Linked DNA regions of Homo sapiens: regions 2, 3, 4 and 5 are each linked to region 1. Evidence: promoter capture Hi-C in 16 types of primary human blood cells and fetal thymus (Javierre and others, 2016). All regions are on one chromosome and are shown on one strand. The core of a region is centred on a gene start or on the middle of the fragment in contact, and the rest is flanking DNA. Distances in the headings are between cores, read along the strand shown.

Evidence for each region. Contacts are between HindIII fragments. The CHiCAGO score rates a contact against its expected background, and 5 or more counts as called.
Region 2: a contact is called between a fragment that was not itself captured here and the fragment with the promoter of CFAP91 in region 1, in 1 of 17 cell types (neutrophils). The highest score is 5.9, in neutrophils.
Region 3: a contact is called between a fragment that was not itself captured here and the fragment with the promoter of CFAP91 in region 1, in 1 of 17 cell types (monocytes). The highest score is 5.2, in monocytes.
Region 4: a contact is called between a fragment that was not itself captured here and the fragment with the promoter of CFAP91 in region 1, in 1 of 17 cell types (total B cells). The highest score is 5.4, in total B cells.
Region 5: a contact is called between the fragment with the promoter of TEX55 here and the fragment with the promoter of CFAP91 in region 1, in 9 of 17 cell types (fetal thymus, total CD4 T cells, naive B cells and 6 more). The highest score is 8.2, in fetal thymus.

Annotation. Positions count from the first base shown.
Region 1 is chr3:119,701,590-119,704,491 of GRCh38, reverse strand. It overlaps CFAP91 (cilia and flagella associated protein 91), which reads right to left and starts at 1,470. Exons shown (of 18, transcript NM_033364.4): 1 at 1,270-1,470. The coding sequence starts at 1,393. LOC105374064 (a long non-coding RNA gene) reads left to right here and starts at 1,449. Exons shown (of 3, transcript XR_924391.4): 1 at 1,449-1,996. RefSeq lists enhancers at 1,152-1,211, 1,262-1,311, 1,305-1,984, 2,651-2,902 and a silencer at 1,422-1,591. The HindIII fragment of the contact is 3,012 bases long and covers 1-2,902 here.
Region 2 is chr3:120,603,083-120,605,984 of GRCh38, reverse strand. No RefSeq gene overlaps it. Among named protein-coding and RNA genes, the nearest start is that of NDUFB4, 8.2 kb to the right of the region's middle. The HindIII fragment of the contact is 1,783 bases long and covers 553-2,335 here.
Region 3 is chr3:120,555,317-120,558,218 of GRCh38, reverse strand. No RefSeq gene overlaps it. Among named protein-coding and RNA genes, the nearest start is that of NDUFB4, 40 kb to the left of the region's middle. The HindIII fragment of the contact is 764 bases long and covers 1,050-1,813 here.
Region 4 is chr3:118,875,524-118,878,425 of GRCh38, reverse strand. No RefSeq gene overlaps it. Among named protein-coding and RNA genes, the nearest start is that of IGSF11-AS1, 66 kb to the left of the region's middle. The HindIII fragment of the contact is 912 bases long and covers 1,041-1,952 here.
Region 5 is chr3:119,144,786-119,147,687 of GRCh38, reverse strand. TEX55 (testis expressed 55) reads right to left here and starts at 1,523. Exons shown (of 3, transcript NM_152539.3): 1 at 101-1,523. The coding sequence starts at 1,498. It also overlaps a transcript of IGSF11 not described here. RefSeq lists a silencer at 1,972-2,266. The HindIII fragment of the contact is 11,642 bases long and covers 1-2,902 here.

The sequences.
Region 1 (2,902 bases), core at 221-2,720:
AAGGTGAAAGGTCATAAGGTCAAAGAAAGAAAGCAGGAGAGCACAGCATCTTAGTTCTGATTTTCCCCATCCAGGTTCTCATCCGCCCTGGCTATACTTCGCTTCCTGTCCATGACTAGCGGCGAGATTGTTTTATAACAATCCAAACTTTTATTTGATCTACTCTGAGTGAATTTCTGTTCTTAGCAAGGGACATGGAAACATTTAGCAATTCCTCTGCAAAAGAGACACTTCGGCATCAAAGAAACAACCAGCTTAATAAATACTTTGGGGAGATGTTTGTCCTCCTTCTCAAATTACCCGTGAAAAAAAAACATGGTGATGTGTTTACAGGAGCTAACTTGATTTATTTCACAAAACCAAGAGTAAATACAGAAAAACACTGGCCAGAATATGTCAGCAATCATTACACAGCCTCTATCTAGGAATGTGTACCCTAGATTCCCACACAAAGGAGACTGGGATTCCCAGAGGCAACACCACATTGCTGAAAGCAATGCAAGGTTCAGGTGAAAAACCTGGGATTGCAGAGGGCAAAATTGGAAAAAATCATGCTTATAGCTGGTTACAGTTCTTGCCACGGCAAATTCAATAAACATTTATTTATTGAAGCGCCTAGTATATGTATCAGCACTAGAATAGGTGCTCAGAAGGCTACAAAAATGTGTAGAACAGGAACTTAAGGAACTCAAGGAGCGTGGAGAGAGAGAAAACATAAAATGGACAACCAAGCCGTTAAAATAAACTGGGGTTTTATTGGCCCAAGAGGAGCCAGCGGACCCAGTCTATAAGCAATGCTTTGACGCAGAAGTTAAAAAAAACAAACAACAACAACAACAAAAAACCTAAAAACAAGCATGGGATAAACTGGCACTTCTTTTCGCCCAACTTGGATTTGCCCAGAGAGTTGGAGAGAAAAGATCATTTTTGTAGGGCATTTTATGCAGGAACGTTGAGTGAATCTCCGAGTGTACAAATCGTTGCACACTTTCTGGGTACCAAAACGCCCGGAACAGGTTTCAGGAAAATCGCCCCCCGAAGCGGAGCGCACCCGCGCCTTTCGATGTACCCGAACCCCCGACCCCAACCTGAGTGCGGCCACCTGGAGGGCTCGGAGCTGCCCCCACCCGACCAAGGACAACCGTGGGCAAGAGGTCAGTCCAGAGGGTCGTGTTTCGTTCGCCATGCCCCTGGCCAGGTCCCACCATCTGGGAGCCCACCTGGCCTAGGAGGCGACGGACGCGGAGGAAGGTCTGCGGCGGTCCTTACCGTACAGAAAATCATACGCTCGATTGGAGGAGATGTGGCTCCCAGCCCGCGACCTCTCCCGGTACCGAGTTTGAGACACCTGCGGCTGGGCCTGGGGCTCCTCGATGGTTACTGCGTGGCTCATGGTGCCGCCTCTTTCCTCCCGCCAGCAAGGGACCAGCGGGTCAGGCCTGGCTACTGCGTGCACGTCGCTATGGTAACGGCCGCCGGCGCGCAGGGATAGGGGGCGGGGCAAGGAGGAGGGAGGAGGCCGCGGGGCGGGGCCGAAGAGGAGTGGAGAGAAGTGAAAGCAGGAGTGGCCAGGCCAGGGTCAGGAGGAGAGTGGAGGGGAAGATGAGAAGAGAGGGGAGGGGCAGGATGGGGGAGGAAAAGGCTGGCTTCCCTCTATACTCCAGAGCCAGCGGGGAGGCTGGGAGAAAGCTACTCTTAAGTCATTGATTTGCCAGTTACACCTCGTAGCCTCTCGGAAATCCCTGGGAGATCTCAGAACCTTCTAGAATAATTGGGTGCCTCCCCGCCCCTCCCCCCAGCCCTTTTCCAGGGGGCTTGTCCCGAGAGCTGCGGAATCCAGTCAGGTTCCTAAATGTTGCTCCTTAGCACGCTGTGAACTTTGCCCCACACTCATTAGCATCAGTGTTTAGGATGGGTTAGGACATCAGTAACTGTTGATCTGAGACTGCTGACCCTTTCTGAGTCCTGGGCATTAAATAACAGAAGATGATGTGGGGTAGGCACTGGCTCTGCTTTTGAAAACTATTTATAATGGAAAATTTTAAACATAAGCAAAAGTGATTCTACTTTTAATAACAAACCCTCAAGTAACCCATCCCTCAGAATCAACATTTAGCAACATTTTGCCAATCAAGTTTCAGTTTCCTTCCCCTCTTTTTTAAAGAAATCCTAGACATAATATTATTTTACCCTTAAATTAGTCTGCATCTCAAACTGACATAGATTTTAAAAATTTAACTACCGTTATCATATCTAACAAAATTAACAATAATTCCTTAGTACTATAAATAATTCCAATTTTCCTGTTTGAGTCCAAATTATCTTTTATAGTTGGTTTGTTCCAGTCAAGATCCAAAAAAAGTCCTCATGTTGCATTTTGGTATGTCTCTTAAGTCTTTTATCCTAGAGCAGTGAATTTCTAATCCTTTCAATAATTCTCTATTATTACCAGAGGTTCTTCTATAAAAGGAATCTTTTCATACCAACTCATTGGTTATCCTGAGATAACCAGGATAATCTCATAGAGGAAAGACTGGGTAAATGCTGGATTTGTTCTTTTTAATTATGAAATTTCAGAGACATGAGTTGGTGCCCTACCAAACTCCAGAGTTAACCACAAAGTTTTTGTTTGTTTGATATCATTATGAATGCATGCATTTTTTACAGATCTGATGTTTTAATCCGTTATGATCATTATTATTTATTACACTCAGATTATTAAAGCTAATGGCATGCCTTAGAGTTGGCTTCTTTGTCCTTTAATGTTGAGACGAGAAGTCTTCTTCCGATCAAAGGTTTTTCTCGATCGAAGGGTTCATGGTCTCACAGGCTTCAAGGAATGAAGCCGTGGACCACAGTGGCAAGTGTTACAGCTTCACTAGAGAAATGCGTGGACCCAAAG
Region 2 (2,902 bases), core at 195-2,694, 900 kb before region 1:
CTATCATTATATACTGCAATAATAATAGTAAACACTGTTATGTTATGGGAATGTGGTCTCTCTCTCTCAGAACATCTTATTGTACTGTCTCACCTATTTTAGAACTGTGGTTGACTTCAGATAACTGAATAAGTGGGGACTACGGGGTAAACTAAAGTCATCTAGAAAAAAAGACGGAAGGTCACAGTAGGATTCCTTCTGTTTTTGCCCTCTAGCAAAATGAGAATCAAGTAATACAATTCTTTAAGATCTGGAGAACAATATAACAATAATGGCCATTAGGATGGGTGGAAGAAGCAGGGTCTTACCGTTATTGTAATGATATGGGCAGGGGCAAATTAGCAAACAGGAACCACATGGAAATCATATGATTTGGTCAAGTCTCATGGGCACAGGATGGTAGCTGTAGATCCAAAATAGTTTTAAGATCCATTTTGCAGGAATTCATGGATCTTTACTCCACCATTACACACAGCTACTCCCACGTGTCTACCACCTTGGCCCCTTTGAATTGCTGTTTCTCACACCTTCTAGTATTTCTGCCTTAAAGCTTCTGTTTACTCATAGATTAGATTCCTCATTACCTTAATGCACTAGTATAAGATCCAGAAAGTGGGAGATAATCTCTATAAAGGTTTAGGAGCTTCCCATATCAGTGATGTTTGTGGGTATCCAGTGGTCTTTGGCATGCCAGGATAGCCCCTCCAAAGTAAAGCACAAGTTGAACCACTTCACACCCTCTACTACAAAGAAAAAGGCACAGCACTTTGTGGGCCTCTGGATTCTGGAGACAACACATACCCTACTTGGGAACAGTACTCTGACCCATTTATGCAGTGATTTGTAAAGCTGCCAGTTTTGTTCTTCCAGAGAGAGGGTCACAGTTTGTCACCCAGGCTGAAGTGCAGTGGGTGGCATGATCATAGCTCCCTGCAACTTTGAACTCTTGGGCTCAAGAAATCCTCCCATCTCAGCCTTCCAATTAGTTAGGCACATACCAGGCATGCCTGGCTATAAGCTGCCAGTTTTGAATGGAGCCCAGAAAGGACTCTGCAGCAGATCCAGGCTGCAGTGTAAGCAGCAGCCACTTGGGTCATATAACACAATAAAGCCAATACTCTAGGTGTCTGTGGTAGGTAGCTAAGGATGCTGCTTGGAGTCTCCTACAAGACCTTGGCAACAGAATAGTTGCAGTGCTGACTTCTTAGGTTGTGGAGCAAGGCCATGCCTTCTGCAGCAAAGAAAAATTCACCATTCCAAAAGCAGCTGGGCACCCAGTATGAGATGAGGTGACCATTCAACCAGAACTGCCTATCAAGATCTGGACAGTCAGAAGCACTGTCATGTGATTGGATGTACACAGCAGCTCTAGGGCACAGATGAATTTAGCTAAGCCTACTAAAGGCTTAGCTAAAGTACCAGCTTAAGGACATCTAGCAGGACTGAGGCTCAGGGTTGACCATGTGGTATATGCAATGAACCAATGGTCATAGATACAGTGCTATGCCCCAGCAGCTAGAATTTATGACTCTGAGAACCAAGAAGTAGGATTGGCCCCTTTTGCCATCCCAGTAACTCATGGTGGAATGTGCACTTCCCCTCCCTCCAAATTTAGGTTCTGCTGGAAGAAGTCCTGATTCCCATGCTGGGGCATAAGAACACTTTCACCAGGGAAACAAAATAATCTGGTACTTCTTGTATTTGGGAAACAGTAGACCGAAAAAGAAATTTCCATACTGGCAGCAGTAAGTGACCCACGGAGCTAGGGTTGCTGCTACACAATGGGGCAAAAAGGGTAATGTCTGGAGTCCAGGGGATTCACTGGAGCATCTCGGTGCTTCCACTTCCAGCCCAGCTGTAAACATGCAATTGCTACAACAAAGGGCTGATGATGATAGAGTAACTAAGATTCTGGTCCTTAGAAATGAAGGCTTTGGTGACTTCATCTGGCTAGCAATCTAGACCTGCTAAAATGATGGCCAAGGAAGGGAAATCTAGTAAATACGATGAGGGGAGATGAATGAGTTACAGACTCTGGGCCAGTTGCAACAGTATGTACTGTAGCTGGTTCCACTAATTGTCCATACTGAGTGTTCTGTAGATTGTATACAGCCATCACCTTGAAGGACATGTTATAGACTGGACTCAGTGTATGTCCAAATAGATCCAAGCAGCGCATGAAGTGGAGGAAGAAATCCTATATCTCTTTTGCCTGCCTCACAACCTCTTGGTCCACCTTTTTACTCTAACTATTGCTGCCACTGTCAGCTGCCTGCAAGTGTGACCTGACAATACTTTACCTCAGCTGCACATCACTTGCTTTCTGCCCTAAGCTTCCTTTCTCCCGCATGTGTAATGCCTGTAAAAACATCGTCAGCCTTTCCAGAGTATGTCCATACCCTGATGTACACGAGAATTGCATGGGATAACCCTTGACCAATGGAGACAAGACAAACATTTGCTTTTCCCACATCTGGTTGAAAAATTCTACATTCCACAGGGCTTCTCAGAAGGTCCCAGGTGGGAGCCTGTTACTCTCAGAGGCAACAGGTTCATGGCACATGTTTGCTGGCTTTCCCTCCTTCCATGTTTCACTCTTCCCAAACTTCTATTCCTTCAGATCACTTCCTAATATAAACTACCTGCACAGAAGACTTTCCCTCAGTCTCTGCTTTCTGGGGCAACCCATGCTTATGCAAGCTTCAAATCAAAGTAGTCGTGGATATCCTTTGAAAGTTAAGACCAATATACCATCTACACCAGCCTTACAGAGCATGCTGGTTATCTACAGCACTTGACTTTACTCTGCCTTTGTGGTGAAATTATCACCCTACTGTTTCCAGACTTAACTACAAAGCATAATACTGTTATTTCATTGTCATCTTCATGACCTTGTGAGGTA
Region 3 (2,902 bases), core at 182-2,681, 850 kb before region 1:
CTGGAACCTCTTGTCCTCCAAGATTCAGGTGCTCTGGTTGAGTCTGGTCCACTCTGCCACAGTATCTTTACTCACAGTGATTTTCTCTTGGGGACTTCATCACTGTCTTCCTCTCAAACTGACTTTTGCTTATAACACAGTTGGAAGAGAGAGTGAGAGAGACTGTGTGTGTGTGTGTGTGTGTGTGTGTGTGTGTGTACCCTTGGAAAATAGAGTTTAAATTTTATTTCTGGGGAATTGGGAATGTCACCAATCGTGGTGTTAAGGCACTAGAGCATGCCATGACAGTCAAAAGGCACCCCAGCAAATGATAGAAGGTGCTTCACCTGGAGCCCACAGAGGGCTCTGGGGCAGTGCTACTTATCAAGAGCCTATCTCAGTTCCAGCCCTAAATATTGCTACTATGGTGGTGGTGATGTACCCCCCTAATTTCTGCATTTCATGGTCCCTGTCTCCAAATCTATCTGGCTCTATTGGTTCAGATTCCTATCCCAATTCCTATTATGTTTCAGCTCCTAGTCCTGTGTGTCCCTGAGAGGAAGAGACTGATATCAGATCTGGTAGGACATGATACTCTTCAATCTTGTCACCATAACTTTCTCCTGGAGCCATGGAATGTAGCAGTGGTATGATCCGATCCCGCCTGTCCCTGTCCTGCCCAATACTTGATAGCTGTTCTTTCCTAGTTCCAGAACCTGATTGGACCAAGTTTAAGACCAAGGTAGGGAGTGGGAGGCAGATAGGCAATGCAATGCTATTCAACATTTAAGAATACTTCCCACTTACTTGTCCTTGTCAGGCCCTGGCCATACAGACAGGCTGTACAAGACATAGGCCCTGACCTCAGGGAGTAAATGTTTTTATTGAACTGACCCACTGTGTCTCTGAATGAGAACAAAAATGAAACTGCTGCAGAAAAACCCAGTGCTACAAAGTGCTAGCATCATCAGGAGGCAGGCTGCCTCTGCAGTGCAATCCATAATCTCTGTGACTTCCAGAACCAAAAAAAAAAAAAAAAAAAAAGTTAAATTACTTTCTAAAATTAAGCTTTGCATTACTTTGGAAACTAACAAAGCATTCCTTCCCACAGACACTGTTCCCAAATTAAGTATTTTGTGCTTATACAGCTGCTCAAATGTTGGTGCATTGAAGATGGAAAAATTTCTTAGGTAGGGAAGAGATGGGGTGCCTAGAAAGGAGAGGGGAGCTCTGTCGGGGGGAGAGCAGCTGTGGTCACTAGCAGAGATTATAGAATAGTTGGAAAAGATTATCAAGTAAATAAGTGTATAAAATGTTTCTAAAGTTATTAGGTCTAAATAAGTGTAGGTTAAGGGGGCCTGTTATGGTCAAGTATTTAAAAGCATCCTTTCAAGTGAAAACCTTGGTCAGTGGCTATTCCCCACCTGTAATCAATAGGAAATGGAATAAAAGTAAACTACCGAGGGGGCATCTTAAGGTCAATGTGAGGCCTATTGTTCAAGATTTCACAGCGATTAAACCCTAGAATGGGTCACAGAGAATAGGTGGGCACTTTCCTCTAGAGGCATTTATTGAAAGAACAGAACTGTCTTGTTATCACATGCTGCAGGTAACATCCAGTGTAGAGACAGAGGCATGACTTGGATGAGCTAACTTCCCAGGTTCTCTTCTATTAAATAGATTGGAAAGTCAAAGAACTCATACAGCATTAGAGGCCCCCCATAGCAGCTAGAGAGAAATGGACAGGTGAAAGGCCCATGGTCCTCACTTGTCCGCCTCCCACCGACAACATGCCAGGGCCTGCCATTGAGCTGCCTGTTTCATTTTGTAAGCTTGTGCCTAGATGTTTGCCTTGCAAACATGTGAGCTGTCTTGGCAAACGGTTTTGTAGAAAGCCCTCACTCACAAGAATTCCATCTGCAATATTTGGACTGGCTTCTAGGACTCCCTTTTCCGCACAAGCTGTTCCCTCCTTATCTCTGGGTCTCTTCCAGAAGGTCATCAATGTTCTGCTGTACAAGGGTCATCTGCTTGCCACACTATTCCCCAGCTCCTGGAACACAGCACTGTTTTCCATGGTGGCAGCAGCAGGAATATCTTCCTCCTCAGCATGATTTTCCAGGCCCAAGATAAGCTCACAAGCACCAAAAGACACAAGGCCATGGCCTCATGGACCTCACACCCAGTAGCCTGATCTGAGTTTAAAAAGGCAGACCTGCTGTCTTAGCTGGGGGAGTAGAGGAGAGTTAGTGGGAGGGGCTACTATGGGTTTAAGTTGACAGAGAGAGGTGGTGCAGGAGCAGAGAGCAGCCAGGAGCACCTGAGGAAGGCTGCGAAGGTCATCTGGGTGGGGGCGGGTTCCAGGGGAGGAGCACTTTCTGGCAGGGTGAGGTGGGGGCGGTCCTGGAGAATGTACCCATAAGGCCAAGTCCAAGGCCTGGGTGGGGTCTCTGACACTTGTAGACACTTGGCACCAAGCCTCAGTGTAATCTTGCTTCATCTCCCTGGATTTCTACCATCATTAATGACTGTGACTTCAGTCAGGGACTACAGAAAGGGAACACTCAGTGATAATCTAGAGGCAAGGACAATTGACCAAATAATCAGATATGGCTCCAGTTTAAGTCCTTTGCCCCATTATTACCCTGCCCTCTCTTCATTATCCTATATCCCAAGTCCTTACTTTCCCAGATGTGGTGGAGAAGGTAAAGAATTCCAAGTTGTTGTAAGCAGGGTCACTCCCCATAAAATGAGATCATCTCACACCCTAGGGACTGACTCAATTGAGCTCCACTGGCCAGAGTTCTGATTGCATCTCCCCAACCGAAAGAATATTAATTCCAGGCAAAGGAGGTCTCTGTCTCCTGCATAGTAGATACTAATGACTCCACTATGAGAAAAATCCTAGAGTGATAGAGTATGA
Region 4 (2,902 bases), core at 247-2,746, 830 kb after region 1:
AGGTGGGAGGATTGCTTGAGCCCAGGATGTGGAGGTTGCAGTGAGCTATGATTGCACCCCTATCCTCCCACCTGGGCCAAAGAGTGTGACCCTGTCTCAATTACTTTTTTTTTTAAATTTTGTGGCTCAATAGGTTTTGGCCCTTGATAAGAAGTGGTGTGTATTCCTGATCAATTAGCACTTGAAAGCCCTTTTGGGAAAGAGTTACTGAACAGCGCTCTAAGTGTGCTCCCTGTTGTTCTTTATCAATAGAAAAGTCAAACACCAAGATTACATGCCTCTACCTCGTAAATATGGGCACGATGGAACAATCCAGTTTCAACTGTACCCTATTTATAAAATGAGTCTCAAAAAGGTTCGCAGGTAAAAATAGAAGTAAGGATATCATGAAGTATGTCTTTGTCATTTCTCTGTCTAGATATCTGTCCAGGCTGAGTGTGTGGTGTTGAAGTCTCCAGCTATTACTGAATTAGGGCCTGTCTCTATTTTTAGCTCTAATATTTGCTTTATATATCTGGGTGCTCCAGTGTTGGGTGCATGTATATTTATAATTGTTATATCCTTTTGTTGAATTTACTGCTTTATCATTATATAGTGACCTTCTTTGTCTCTTTTTAAAGTTTTGTCTTGAAATATATCTTGTCTGATATAAGTATAGCTATTCCAGCTCTTTTTTTGTTTCTATTTGCATGGAATATCTTTTTCCATCCCTTTATTTTCAGTCTGTGTGTGTTTTTATAGATGAAGCGTATTTCTTATAGGCAACAGATCAATGGGTCTTGCTTTTTAATCCATTCAACCACTCTGTCTTTTGATTGGAGAGTGTACTCCACTTACATTCACTGTTACTACTAATAAGTGAGGACTTAACTCCTGCCATTTTGTTATTTTCTGGTTGTTTTGTGGTCTTCTTTCTTTCCTTCCTTCCTTCCTGTCTTCCTTTTAGTGTAGGTGGTTTTTCTCTGGTAGTATGCTTTAATTTCTTGCTTTTTATTTTTTTGTGTATCTGTTGTTTTAAATTTTATGGTTACCATGAAGCTTACAAATAATACAGAGTAGAATAATGGTTACCAGAGGCTGGGAAAGGTAGTGAGTGTGGTAGGTGGAGTGGAAATAGTTAACGGGTACAAAAATATAGTTAGAATGAATAAGATCTACTATTTGATAGCATAACAGGTGACTGTAGTCAATAATAATTTATTGTACATTTAAAATAACGAAAAGAGTATAATTGGGTTGTTTGTAATAGAAAGGATAAATGCTTGAGGTGATGGATACCCCATTTACCCTAATGTGATTATTATGCATTGTATACCTGTATCAAAATTTCTCATGTACCCCATAAATATATACACCAACTATATAGCTACAAAAATTGAAAATAAATAAATAAATAATAAAAAAAGATCCTCAGTTAGACCATTAATACAATGGTAGCTTAAAAAAAAATAGAACCCGAACAAACAAAAAACCTGCTTTCAGTATCCTGCAAGATCCTGAAATCCTCATCTGTGGACTTCACTTCAAATATGTCTTTCTCCCTACAGAATCTCTCTAAACTATTTCAGCTACCACCTTTTACCTTGGAGATTTGGCAGCTTGTTACATTTGCTTCTGAGCTTGTTGTTATGTTGACCCTCAACACTTGAGGGATTCTTTCCTGGCCTGACTTCCCTCTAATCTCAGACCTACACTCTAAAACTTGTGCTACAGCTGTGCCCTTGTCTAGTCCTTATGTTTGGGAATACCATGAGCTGAGGCAGGAATCAGTTATTCATAGCATAGAATGAGAGACGTAAGGACACCAGTCTCTAGAGTCACTGTAGTATTCTGTAGTTCATGTGAGCATGGCCTGAGAATTCAAGCTAGCAGCTCTAGGGGTTGTTGTTGCTGACAGCACACCCTTTGTGGCAAACCACATAGGAATTAATAGTGACTTCCACTCTGAAGCTTCTACCCTTTGCAGCAACAAGGCTGTTACTTCCCTGGAATTATAGGTTTGTACACTTAATCTGCTTAATTCCCATAGAGAACCAATGTGGTTTCTCACTGCCGTGCTGAGATCCTCTTTCCAACGCCTTTACAAAGATAGCATCCCCATTCCCAGACTTCTTTTCTCCTCGACCAGGCAGCCTGGTGAAAATGTGCAACAGTTCTAGAAAAGGGGCGTAGAAACACAGATTCCTTTTATTTATTCTAGACCGAAACTGGGGGCTCATAGTGACATCCAGTCACAATTTTATTTTGTCTTTTTTGGCTTACCAAAGGCTTAGCTTCTCTCGATTTATTTATAGAAATCCACATATCGAAGGAGAGAATAAGGGTAATTTTTATGTGATACAGGTCTTTGCAAGAATTTGCAGATGGTACATACTTTTGTCTCTCATGGAAGATATGCAGTTTTTCTTTTGGAAAGGGTACAGAAAGACCTGGCTACACCTTTCTAACAGATAACGATTACTTTCTATTTGTTCAATTTAGTCCCATCAGAACTCCTTATATGACAGTGCCAGGAGATCTAGGCCCCATTTAGGATATTTTTTGGAGAATGTCTTATACGGCATTTAACATAAGTGTGTTGTGACCTAATCCAGAGCTCTTTTACAGGAAATTCTCAGGCAATTAATTTCATTGTCCATGACTATAGTTGGTTCATTTTCTCCCTTTCAGCACTCTAAGAATTATGGCGATTTCTTATCAAAGAAATAGTTAATTTGAAATTTTACTTGGAAACAGCACACAACGAACATAAATTTCATATAGAGGCCCAAATGTCTTGTGTGGCCAACTGTGATGTTTTTTACCTTGTCCATGTAGCTGACGCCTTGGCAAATATTTCCTGGGCCTCCGTGAGGGGCATCATCTAAGTCATCTGGAATCTATTCTTTTCTCCAACTCTACT
Region 5 (2,902 bases), core at 274-2,773, 560 kb after region 1:
ATGCAACATGTGCCCTTCCGTTGTACCCCTATTTTTACTCTCCAGGCCCCGTCTAGATCTCTGATCTCCCAGGTAGGTATCAAATGCCCATTTAACTTACAGATTTGGTTACTATGGCTTGAGTTTTTTCTTGACTGCTGGTATAGTTCAATTTGGATGAGATGGAGGGGAGTCTTGGGAAAAGAGCTTGGTCTTTTGCTTGGAAGTTACTGGTGAATCTGGCATCAACTGGGTTGTAGGGTGGGATAGTGGTTGCATTCTGAGTTTCCATTTCAACTGAAGGCTTGGAATTGAGGTCTACTTGGCTATCCTCAAATTTGCAGGGTTGTACTCTGTAGTCAGCCTCTTTGTCCTCTTTGCTGTTGCCTAACTGGGGAAATATTCTGTCTTCAGACTGGCCACGTGTTTCATAGTAAGACAGCTGGTCTTTATGATTAGCTTGTCTGTCTGCTAAGTGGTCAGTCTGGTCAGATTCAGTGTAGTGAGCATTGTCAACTGGAGGTTGATCAGCATTACTATGAGCTTGGTCAATAGCCTGGTGTTCAGCTAGTTCAGTGGCTTGGCCGTACACTTGGTGGTGAGTCTTTACAGATGTTTTGTGGTCAACGAGGCCATACAATCTGAGGTCAGTCTGCTCAGAAGTTCCTGGGTCAGCCAGGCCAGCCAATCTGTAGTCAGTCTTCTCAGAACTTCTTCTCCTAACTTTCCCTGACATTCTGCGGTCAATCTGTACGGAAGGTCTTTGGTCAGATGGTACGGACGATCCACTGTCAATCTGTACAGAAGGACTTTGGTCAGATGGGACGGATGACCCACTGTCAATCTGCACAGAAGGTCTTCTCTCAGATAGTTTGGATAATCTGTGTGTAATCTGCTCAGAAGTTCTTCGCTCAGCCTCGCCAGACATTCTGCGGTCCATCTGCTCGGAAGCTCTTCTCTCAGACTGGCCTGCCATTCTGTGGTCGGTCTGTCTGGAACCTCTCTGGTCAGATGGCATAGCCAGTCTACCATCAATCTGCCCAGAAGTTCTTCTCTCAGCCTGGGTAGGTAATCTTCGTTCAGTCTGTTCAGCAGTTCTTTCCTCCGTCAGGCCAGACACCTGACCATCACTCTGTTCATGCTGTACATTATTAGCTTGGCTAGATGCCTTGCCTTTAGTCTGTTCAGACGGTGTTTGATTAACCTGATCATCTGCTCTAAGGTCAGAAACATCAGCAGGGTTGGATGCTCTGCGGCCAGCCTGACCAGGTGTACTATGCCCATTTTGTTCAGCTACTCCGTTGGTAGCTTGGCTAAATATGCTGGATTCAGCCTGGCTAGGCACTCTTAGGGCAGTCTGGTCAGCTATTCTGTGAGCAGTGTGGTTATCTGCCTTCCTTTCGGCCTGGTTCTTCTGGTCGTCTTCTTCCTGGCCCTTAGTGTGGCCAGCACTTGAGGGAGCGGCTGGGCTTTCATGTTTCAAGGGTTCAGCCAGAGCCTCTTGCGGAGGCTCTTCCATTTCCTGCCGCGTCCCTGACTGGTCTAGGTTGCCAGGCACTGTGGGTGGGGTTGGGCTGGGTCGTCTAGGCGACCCTCCAGGAACGCCCCATGATTCCCACGGGCTTTGTTCGGGTCACTGCGTGCGTCAGGGAGAGTGGCCGTCCCGCTGTTGTAAGTGGAGGGACGGCAGTCAGCTGACCCTGCAGTGTGCAGGCGAGCGCAGGGAGTACGCCATGTCCTGAGAAGGGGCGATTCTCAGGCTCTGGCAGTTACAGCTTCTCCTCACCCTGCCGAGCAACCAGGCCACGGGGCTCCGTGCATCGCCACCTAGAGTGTTACCCTCTTCCTTGTTCACAGAGGTTCTCCGCAGTGTGTGAGAAAGAGGCCCTCTCTCAGGTACTGCTCCTCTGATTAACATCCCCCACCGCACCTCCAAATGTCAACAGATGAACACACAACCAGCTGCACGAGGACCACAAAACTGAACAGAGGTTGTTGCTATTGCCATCCCCTTTGGGTATAGCTGTCTTGGCAGTGGAAACTCCTGCCCCAAGGTGTTTTCTTGCTGGATTAGACATGTGATCTGTGGCGGGAGAGCCAGAGAGAGGAGAGAAGATCCAGTGAGAATGGGTTCTAAAACTGCACCATCTAGTGGTCTTACAGCAGAGAGGCGAGTTAGAAGGAGGCCAAATCAGAGTTCCAGAAAGGAAGGGAGTAAGGAAAGTGGGAGAAAGATACCAGAAGGAATATTTAGCAAGTGGAGAATTTGTATTTGATAGTGTTGGCCAGTGGGGCCCAGTTTTTGAGATTTGGTCCTCCCACTTTGCAATCAACCTTAAGAATGCACCTCAGAGTCAGTAGGCTGTCTACTTTCAGGAGTAGGCCAGTACAGAGGTGGTGATTGATGAGACAAATTACTTTGACCTTGCAAAGCCTGAAATCACTGAGGCAGGCCAAGGGTTGGTAGTGTGATGCCAGATATTCCTTTAGTAGGGATTTAACTGCATTAAACAATTAGAAATGAGACTTAAAATCCAAATTCAAATACTTGTGACAAAGGAGAGTGGATACACTTGACACCATACTTAGGAATGGAAAGGGGAATCTAAGCACACTGAAGTAAAGTCATTTATGTAACAGTGCCTAGAACATAATAGGTGCTCAAGAAGTGCTTGTTGAATGTCACTTTATGAATTATCTACCTTATTTATTTAAAAATGCATGACACCATTGGATACTGTGTTTAGAGTAAAATAGGTCTTGGGCTATGGCTTGTAGCTTCAAAGTGCTATTGGTTTTGGAGATTTATTTTTCCATTTTATAACTTAAATGTAATAATCATAGAAATATAAAAAAGAAAGCGTAAAGAAAAAAATTCCCAAACACTCAAGAGATAACCTGTATTGACATTTTGATGTTTATC